2 separate regions of the Homo sapiens genome follow, and region 2 is linked to region 1. The links are contacts of gene promoters, found by promoter capture Hi-C in blood cells and fetal thymus (Javierre and others, 2016). All regions are on one chromosome and are shown on one strand. Each heading gives the region's core, a stretch centred on a gene start or on the middle of the fragment in contact. The rest is flanking DNA. Distances are from core to core; before and after follow the strand shown. Region 1 holds the start of BCDIN3D (BCDIN3 domain containing RNA methyltransferase). Region 2 overlaps LIMA1 (LIM domain and actin binding 1).

Region 1 (5,350 bases), core at 2,772-5,271:
TACCAGGTCATTTGTTTTTGTAAAATTGGAAAAAGTGAGATATTTTAACTGCAGTTGGTTAAGGCTGCTGTCTATTTCTGCTCTGACTTCCCCTCCTTCACATTTTCCCTTGTGTTAGATGGCACTGAAGTGGCCACAGGCATTTTTGGGAAATAAAAGCTACAGGGAAGTTGAGTTGGGAATAGACTCCATTTGGTATCTATTCATATGGCATACCGACACTTCCATGCATAGCTACCACCTGCAACCCAGACACAGGAATACCTTCCAGAAGTACTCTTATTCATCCAGCAAGCTGACTTACCTGCTATTGTGACCTGTAGGTAGAAGAGCGGCTGGGCGCGGTGGCTCACGCCTGTAATCCCAGCACTTTGGGAGGCGGAGGCGGGCAGATCATGAGGTCAGGAGATCGAGACCGTCCTGGCTAACACAGTGAAACCCCGTCTCTACTAAAAATACAAAAAATTAGCCGGGCGTGGTGGCGGGCGCCTGTAGTCCCAGCTACTCGGGAGGCTGAGGCAGGAGAATGGCGTGAACCCGGGAGGCGGAGCTGGCAGTAAGCCGAGATCGCGCCACTGCACTCTAGCCTGGGCGACAGAGCAAGACTGTCTCAGAAAAAAAAAAAAAAAAAAAAAAAAAAAGGGCTTAGATCAAACCAGGATATAAATGTGTCCAATAGCACCTGGCACCCGAAGTTATGTGGGCCTAAAAGTTTGAAAATATATGAAGTCAGAAGCTAGTCTGAAGAAAATTATTCCAGTCATAAGCAGAAGATTCTGTCTCTTATTAAACACCAGTCAAAACAAGTTTTGTCCTGTCGGCAATAACACAGTAACTCAATAGCACAGCATATATAATTATAAATGCACCATGCATTCTTTTATTTCTTGATGGGAATTGTACAATACACAATTTATCAGAATCCCTATGTTTAAATTCCTTTGCTGACTTGACACAAATTACTGCTATCAATGCAGATGATAAAAATTTTATAATGCATCATTCATAATAAGGTTTTCAACGACAAATTGGCTAATGAATACAGTCCATTTGAAGAGTAGATCTAAGATTATTTCTTGCACAAGAAAATTTGAAATGCTCTGAAATCTTCCAGCTAATAAATGAAAGAAATTTAATCAAAGTTCTCCCCCAATTTGATAACAAACCAAAAAATTTACATGACATTGCCAATAACAACTTGTGAACTTGAAAGAAACTTTTATAACTGCCACAAATAATAAAAGACAAATTTGATCCACCAGGCTAAGAAAAGACTGAATTACCTTCCTGGTCTCTCTCTAAAATGATATTATCAAGTGATTGTCATGTGAAGAAGCAATCAAAGAGTATGCAGCCAAAAATGTAAGAAAAAAAGTAATATTCAAGTGTGACTAGCATTTAATCAATCAAACTATTATAGAATTTTTTTTTTTTTTTTGAGACGGAGTCTTGCTGTCGCCCAGGCTAGAGTGCAGTGGCACGATCTCGGCTCACTGCAGGCTCCGCCCCCTGGGGTTCACGCCATTCTCTTGCCTCAGCCTCCCGAGTAGCTGGGACTACAGGCGACCGCCACCTCGCCCGGCTAATTTTTTGTATTTTTAGTAGAGAGGGGTTTCACCGTGTTAGCCAGGATGGTCTCGATCTCCTGACCTCGTGATCCGCCCGCCTCGGCCTCCCAAAGTGCTGGGATTACAGGTGTGAGCCACCACACCAAGCCTATAGAAAATTTGTTGTGATGCTTTTAGTAGTCAGCTTTTCAAAATTTGTAATTTGTTGTGATTTCTCATTATAAATAAATATTCACTTTTATACCTGTCTTTATATTTGTAAGTTGGTGGGAGTTTTTTCCTTAAAGAGGGCGCCCCTTCTTCCCCTTTCCCTTGAAATTATATATGCATCTCACTCCATAAAACCTGGCTGACCAAAGTGCAGAGCGAGCTCTTAGGTGCTGCTACAGCTATTTAAGGTGCTGGGGCTGGTATTGTCAAGTATTGTCAAGACACCTGTGCTGTTCAGGCTCTGAAAAGTGGTCATAGGTTAGAAAAGTTACCAGAGTGGATCAAATTAAAACACCTCTTTATGAGGTCACCTGTCAGGCATTTTAGATTACCAGTAATGTTACGAGGGCCTATCTTTGCTTCTGGAGGAACCCCAGGGTCAGGAGTTCTTGCCATTCACTGTCCTGGAAGCAAGGTGATTCCAGCTCCTTGAAAATTGTTAATTATTTGTGCTAGCTTCATCTAGTGACAAAAAGAGGTAAGTTCAGCTCAGCTCACCAAAATTTGTCAAAACGGTGCAGCTTTTTCTCCTTTTCTGTAATTGTGCAGAATACTGTGGTTTACTAAATTCCAGAGTGACTTTTATTAACTTGTGTCCTCAAATAAGTGAAACTAGAGAAACAGCAGGCCAGATAGAGATGAAAATATAAAGGCTGGGCGTGGTGGCTCTCGCCTGTAATCCCAACACTTTGGGAGGCCGAGGTGGGCAGATCACGAGGTCAGGAGTTCGAGACCAGCCTGGCCAACATAGTGAAACCCCGTCTCTACTAAAAAATACAAAAACTTAGCCAGGAATGGTGGCGGGTGCCTGTAATTCCAGCTACTTGGGAGGCTGAGGCAGGAGAATCACTTGAACCTGGGAGGCAAAGGTTGCAGTGAGCCGAGATCATGTCATTGCACTCCAGCCCAGGCAATAGTGTGAGACTCTATCTCAAAAAAAGGAGAAAAGAAAAAGAAAATATAAAGTAAAAACTGAGAGGAAAACAGCGCTTATTTTAACTCCTGATGGTACTGTTTGCAGGAGTCATGCTCCAGTGCCTTATAAGAAGTTTACCGAACTGCCAGCCTCATGGAGCAGGATACCCCTTTAAGATGGGTGGGCCAGGTGCAGGGGTGGGGTTGGGGGTCCTGCACAACTCTGCTGATGCTTGGTTGACCCTGACGGATATTCTGGGCCATCCTGGCTTTTGACTGGAACCTGCTACCTAGGTTGACCCTTCAGTTCCTCTCCTTATCAGCTCTGTTATTTCCAATCTCTGAGTCACATCTTGCCCAACTCCATTCCACTATGTCTGCTTCAGTTGGCATCCTTTCTCCCTTCCATTTAAAGTTTCCCCAAACAGATCTGGCCTTATTGTATTCTCTATTGAGTTTTCATTCAACAACATTTGTTGAGCATCTTTGTGCCAGGCCCATGTTAAGTATAGGAGACTCAAGGCTGAGAATAACACACCGTTGCAAGCACATCCTCTGGATCCAAACTCCCTGGGTTCGAATCCTAGTACCATCATTTCTAACTGTGGGATCTTGGACAAGTTACTTTGTTTTACTCCAGTGTCCTCATCTATATAAAAAGAATAATAATACGGTCATTTTCTCACGGGGTGAGAGGATTGACTAAGGAGCTTACAAGGGTGTCTGGTGCCTGGTAAGCACTCTTTAAGTGCTGGCTCTTAAGGCACGGTCCTTGCCTCTCAAGGAGCTCATGGTCTACAGTTGCCCCTGGGGGACAGGGCTGAGTCGGCTGGCTTCGCAAGTGACCTGCACCTCCTGGCTACCCTTTCCTGAACCGGGTGGAAGTTTTTGAGTCACAGATTCAATGTATGACCCCAGACAAGTAAGTTCTCTCGGTCTCACTTTTTGCATTTATAAAGAAAGGAAATTGGACTAAAATTGATTTCCAAGATCCCAACAAACTAGTATACTTGTTCTGGGTCAAGTAGCCCAAGTTTCAAACTATGTCAGCTTGGCCAAGACACTTAGCCCTCAGAGTTTGTTTCATCCCTGTAAAACGTGGATGATATTGCTAATCCCCTCCCAGTGTTGTGATGAGGGTTCAATAATACAAGGCAAGCCCCAGGCGCTCGCCGGCTCCAGGTATACAGCGAGAGGAAATCAGGACAGCTTTTCTGATTCACCGCAGAATTCTAGCCACCCGCCCTAGCCGTTCGACGCACGCGCGCTGGCACCGCCACCGCCCACGCCGACAGCAGGTTCCCGGCTTCCGGTTCCGCCACGGCCCAGAGGCTGTGTTGAGGCTAATGGCGGTGCCCACGGAACTGGATGGAGGGAGTGTTAAGGAGACCGCAGCGGAAGAGGAATCGCGAGTTCTGGCACCTGGCGCCGCCCCGTTCGGAAATTTTCCTCATTATTCTCGCTTCCACCCTCCGGAGCAACGGCTCCGCCTCCTGCCCCCGGAGCTGCTTCGACAGCTCTTTCCTGAGAGTCCCGAGAACGGGCCGATTCTGGGGCTCGACGTGGGGTGTAACTCCGGGGTGAGTGACAGGGGAGGGATTGGAGCATCCGGAGCCAAGTGGTTGGCTGCCTACACATCCACTGTGGTTCTGGCCTGGGCTAACACCCATCGAAACTTTCCCAAAACGAGTATAAAGCGTGGCTTTGACTGAGCCAGTGCCGCTGCTGCCTGCCCGCCAGGGTTCCACCATCTGTCTTAGGAATCTCTCTTGGAGAGGAGTCCTTGTCGACTACGTTCCCACTTTTCTTTCAGGGCCAGACCCCAGGTGGGAACGGTCCTTGTATCTAGGGTGGCCTCTGTCCAGCGTGCCTGGCGCTTTGGCTGGGGAGAGGGGGCTTCCAGAGACACACGTTTGGGAACATGGGGTTAGGTTTGGTTTACTGGGAGAGAAGAGCCAAGGGTGACAGAATCATGCCTGATATTGAGACTCATGTGTGCTATACAGTGCAGGACAGACCCTGGGACCTGCATGTTTATTTCAAAAAAAGTGAGTAGGCCGGGCGCGCTGGCTCACGCCTGTAATCCCAGCACTTTCGGAGGCCGAGGCGGGTGGATCACAAGGTCACGAGATCGAGACCATCCTGGCTAACACGGTGAAACCCCGTCTCTACTAAAAATACAAAAAATTAGCCGGTCGTGGTGGCGGGCGCCTGTAGTCCAGCTACTCCGGAGGCTGAGGCAGGAGAATGGCGTGAACCCGGGAGGCGGAGCTTGCAGTGAGCCGAGCTAGTGCCACTGCACTCCAGCCTGGGCGACAGAGCGAGACTCCGTCTCAAAAACAAAACAAAACAGTGAGTTGACAGAGTACAGTGGAGAGGATCGAGAAGCAAATAAAGCATTTTGCCCAAGGGAATGGAGAAGGGCGGCACTGCCACTCTTCTTGCTGCAAACTATTCTTAGGCATATGATTATAATCAAACCACATGCAAAATAAGGAAATGTCTCTCCCACACCTATTTGTAGCCACTGGGATATTCTACACTAGCAGGCAGTCTGAACTTACCACGGCAAATGCTTCAAAAGTTAGTACCCTCTCTGCGCTCCCTCCATCACTCCAGTCCAGCATCTGGAGGGCGGGGGACAATTCTGTTACGTT
Region 2 (4,972 bases), core at 1,572-4,071, 330 kb before region 1:
TGTTGCCCAGGCTGGAGTGCAGTGGTGTGATCCTGGCTCACTGCAACCTTTGTCTCCCAGGTTCAAGCGATTCTCATGCCTCAGTCTCCTGAGTAGCTGGGATTACAGGCGGGCACCACCACGCCCAGCTAATTTCTTTCTTTTTTTTTTTTTTTCCGGAGATGGAGTCTTGCTCTGTCGCCCAGGCTGGAGTGCAGTGGGATGATGTCAGCTCACTGCAACCTCCACCTCCCAGGTTCAAGCAATTCTCCTGCCTCAGCCTCCCGAGTGGTTGGGACTACAGGCGTGTGCAACATGCCTGGCTAATTTTTGTATTTTTCATAGAGATGAGGTTTCACCATGTTAGCCACGCTGGTCTTGAACTCCTGACCTCAGTCAGTCTGCCCTCCTCGGCCTCCCAAAGTGCTGGGATTACAGGTGTGAGCAACCACGCCTGGCCAATTTTTGTATTTCTTAGTAGAGATGGGGTTTCACCATGTTGGTCAGGCTGGTCTCAAACTTCTGACCTCAAGTGATCTGCCCACCTCGGCCTCCCAAAGTGCTGGGACTGCACCTGGCCGGAGATCCCATCTCTATGAAAAATTTGGGGAGGCTGAGACTGAGGCTGGAGGATCACTTGAGCCCTGGAGGTCAAGGCTGCAGTGAGCTATGATCATACCATTGCACTCCAGCCTGGGTGACAGAGCAAGACCTCCACTCAAAAAAAAAAACAACAAAAAATGGCTGGGTGCAGTTGCTCATGCCTGTAATCCCAGCACTTTGGGAGGCCGAGGTGGGCAGATCACGAGGTCAGGAGATTGAGACCATCCTGGCTAACAAGGTGAAACCCCGTCTCTACTAAAAATACAAAATATTAGTCAGGTGTGGTGGCGAGTGCCTGTAGTCCCAGCTACTCGGGAGGCTGAGGCAGGAGAATGGCGTGAACCTGGGAGGCGGAGCTTGCAGTGAGCTGAGATCGTGTCACTGCACTCCAGCCTGGGTGACAGAGCGAGACTCTGTCTCAAAAAAAAACAAAAATGGCTGGGCGTGGTGGCTCACGCCTGTAATCCCAGCCCTTTGGGAGGCCGAGGCGGGCAGATCACGAGGTCAAGAGATCGAGACTATCCTGGCCAACATGGTGAAACCCCGTCTCTACTAAAAATACAAAAATTTGCCGTGCATGGTGGCACACACCTGTAGTCCCAACTACTCAGGAGGCTGAGGTAGGAGAATCGCTTGAACCCAGGAGGCAGAGGTTGCAGTGAGCTGAGATCATGCCACTGCACTCCAGCCTGGCGACAGAGCGAGACTCTAACAAAACAAAACAATACAAAAATTAGCCAGGCGTGGTGGCGCACTCCTGTAATCCCAGCTACTCAGGAGGCTGAGGCAGGAGAATTGCTTAAACTTGGGAGGCGGAGGTTGCAGTGAGCCAAGATTGTGCAACTGCACTCCAGCCTGGGCGACAGAGCGAGATTCTCTCAAAAAAAGAAAAGAAAAAGAAAAAAAAAATATATATATATATATGTATTTATATACCGTTAAGAATAGAGTTAATTCAAGCACAAAAGCTTGATGATGGCTACCCAGAAACACTGACTCCAAATGAATGGGGTCAGCATTCCAAAGTGGAGAAAGTTAGTTTCACTTACACAGAAATTTTAGCAAAGATTATGACATTTTTCATATAAGACCAGTGCATATACCACAGTGATTTGATTGGGTACAGATTGGTACATTCCAAGGAAGATTATCACTCGCAAAGAAGGGATAGTGATCTGAGGGGGTCTTATCTCTGGTGCCCTTTGGTCTTCATAATTTATAGTGAAAAGAAAGAGTTGCAGCTACATGCTGTGTGACCCAGGTTGCATAGCCACATTCCTCTCAAGGCTCAGAATGATTTAAAGTTTCTATTACTGTTGGTTTTTTTTTCTTTTTTTTTTTTTTTAAGACAGTCTCGCTCTATCACAGTGGCACAATCTCAGCTCACTGCAACCTCTGCCTCCCGGGTTCAAGTGATTCTCCCACTTCAGCTTCCCAAGTAGCTGAGACTACAGGCATGTGCCACCACACCCAGCTAATTTTTAAATTTTTTGTAGAGATGAATTCTCACTATGTTGGCCGGGCTGGTCTCAAACTCCTGGGCTCAAGCGATCCTCTCACCCTGGCCTCCCAAAGCGCTGGGATTACAGGCATGAGCCACTGCACCCAACCCGTGCTTTGTGTTATGATAAGAAAACAAATGTGCTAAAATGGGGGTAAGGAATTCCTGGTCACTGAAGGGCTTTTAAAGATCTTTTTCTTACTTGGCATCTTCTGAAAATACTGGAATTGCCAGATTTTAGCCTCCTGGTATAAGTGAGAATGTGAAGATTTGCTAAGTTTATGCTTTTTTTCTTTTAATGACAGTCTAGGAACATATGCATCTTTACATGGAAGAATCTATTGTAAGCCTCACTTCAATCAACTCTTTAAATCTAAGGGCAACTATGATGAAGGCTTTGGGCACAGACCACACAAGGATCTATGGGCAAGCAAAAATGAAAACGAAGAGATTTTGGAGAGACCAGCCCAGCTTGCAAATGCAAGGGAGACCCCTCACAGCCCAGGGGTAGAAGATGCCCCTATTGCTAAGGTGGGTGTCCTGGCTGCAAGTATGGAAGCCAAGGCCTCCTCTCAGCAGGAGAAGGAAGACAAGCCAGCTGAAACCAAGAAGCTGAGGATCGCCTGGCCACCCCCCACTGAACTTGGAAGTTCAGGAAGTGCCTTGGAGGAAGGGATCAAAATGTCAAAGCCCAAATGGCCTCCTGAAGACGAAATCAGCAAGCCCGAAGTTCCTGAGGATGTCGATCTAGATCTGAAGAAGCTAAGACGATCTTCTTCACTGAAGGAAAGAAGCCGCCCATTCACTGTAGCAGCTTCATTTCAAAGCACCTCTGTCAAGAGCCCAAAAACTGTGTCCCCACCTATCAGGAAAGGCTGGAGCATGTCAGAGCAGAGTGAAGAGTCTGTGGGTGGAAGAGTTGCAGAAAGGAAACAAGTGGAAAATGCCAAGGCTTCTAAGAAGAATGGGAATGTGGGAAAAACAACCTGGCAAAACAAAGAATCTAAAGGAGAGACAGGGAAGAGAAGTAAGGAAGGTCATAGTTTGGAGATGGAGAATGAGAATCTTGTAGAAAATGGTGCAGACTCCGATGAAGATGATAACAGCTTCCTCAAACAACAATCTCCACAAGAACCCAAGTCTCTGAATTGGTCGAGTTTTGTAGACAACACCTTTGCTGAAGAATTCACTACTCAGAATCAGAAATCCCAGGATGTGGAACTCTGGGAGGGAGAAGTGGTCAAAGAGCTCTCTGTGGAAGAACAGATAAAGAGAAATCGGTATTATGATGAGGATGAGGATGAAGAGTGACAAATTGCAATGATGCTGGGCCTTAAATTCATGTTAGTGTTAGCGAGCCACTGCCCTTTGTCAAAATGTGATGCACATAAGCAGGTATCCCAGCATGAAATGTAATTTACTTGGAAGTAACTTTGGAAAAGAATTCCTTCTTAAAATCAAAAACAAAACAAAAAAACACAAAAAACACATTCTAAATACTAGAGATAACTTTACTTAAATTCTTCATTTTAGCAGTGATGATATGCATAAGTGCTGTAAGGCTTGTAACTGGGGAAATATTCCACCTGATAATAGCCCAGATTCTACTGTATTCCCAAAAGGCAATATTAAGGTAGACAGATGATTAGTAGTATATTGTTACACACTATTTTGGAATTAGAGAACATACAGAAGGAATTTAGGGGCTTAAACATTACGACTGAATGCACTTTAGTATAAAGGGCACAGTTTGTATATTTTTAAATGAATACCAATTTAATTTTTTAGTATTTACCTGTTAAGAGATTATTTAGTCTTTAAATTTTTTAGGTTAATTTTCTTGCTGTGATATATATGAGGAATTTACTACTTTATGTCCTGCTCTCTAAACTACATCCTGAACTCGACGTCCTGAGGTATAATACAACAGAGCACTTTTTGAGGCAATTGAAAAACCAACCTACACTCTTCGGTGCTTAGAGAGATCTGCTGTCTCCCAAATAAGCTTTTGTATCTGCCAGTGAATTTACTGTACTCCAAATGATTGCTTTCTTTTCTGGTGATATCTGTGCTTCTCATAATTACTGAAAGCTGCAATATTTTAGTAATACCTTCGGGATCACTGTCCCCCATCTTCCGTGTTAGAGCAAAGTGAAGAGTTTAAAGGAGGAAGAAGAAAGAACTGTCTTACACCACTTGAGCTCAGACCTCTAAACCCTGTATTTCCCTTATGATGTCCCCTTTTTGAGACACTAATTTTTAAATACTTACTAGCTCTGAAATATATTGATTTTTATCACAGTATTCTCAGGGTGAAATTAAACCAACTATAGGCCTTTTTCTTGGGATGATTTTCTAGTCTTAAGGTTTGGGGACATTATAAACTTGAGTACATTTGTTGTACACAGTTGATATTCCAAATTGTATGGATGGGAGGGAGAGGTGTCTTAAGCTGTAGGCTTTTCTTTGTACTGCATTTATAGAGATTTAGCTTTAATATTTTTTAGAGATGTAAAACATTCTGCTTTCTTAGTCTTACCTAGTCTGAAACATTTTTATTCAATAAAGATTTTAATTAAAATTTGAACTTTTCAATGTTTCTCTTCCATTATTTTCTTACGTTATTACTGTCTCTCAGGATCTACTTTTGCAGTTTGGGAAGAAAAAAATGGTACCACTTTTTTAAGTTTTAGTTGAATAGAAGCATTATCAATACATCTCACCACTAGATGGTAGTGTTGGGCTGATCTTGGATTTCAATCCTCCCTGAAGGAAGACAAATTTTTCTGGAAAATTGCAGGCAACTTGGCAAGAGAATTAATGTGTGCATTCAAAATGAGGTATTTTACCAATTCGAAATCTAGTGGTGGTTTTTATTGTTTATAACAC

The links. Contacts are between HindIII fragments. The CHiCAGO score rates a contact against its expected background, and 5 or more counts as called.
Region 2: a fragment that was not itself captured here is called in contact with the fragment with the promoter of BCDIN3D in region 1 in 1 of 17 cell types (M2 macrophages); the score reaches 5.7 in M2 macrophages.

What each region holds. Positions count from the first base shown.
Region 1 is chr12:49,841,777-49,847,126 of GRCh38, reverse strand. BCDIN3D (BCDIN3 domain containing RNA methyltransferase) reads left to right here and starts at 4,021. Exons shown (of 2, transcript NM_181708.3): 1 at 4,021-4,273. The coding sequence starts at 4,040. RefSeq lists enhancers at 3,679-3,738, 4,309-4,678. The HindIII fragment of the contact is 7,812 bases long and covers 1-5,350 here.
Region 2 is chr12:50,175,486-50,180,457 of GRCh38, reverse strand. It overlaps LIMA1 (LIM domain and actin binding 1), which reads left to right. Exons shown (of 11, transcript NM_016357.5): 11 at 2,389-4,670. The coding sequence ends at 3,394. Among named protein-coding and RNA genes, the nearest start is that of CERS5, 11 kb to the right of the region's middle. The HindIII fragment of the contact is 2,538 bases long and covers 1,553-4,090 here.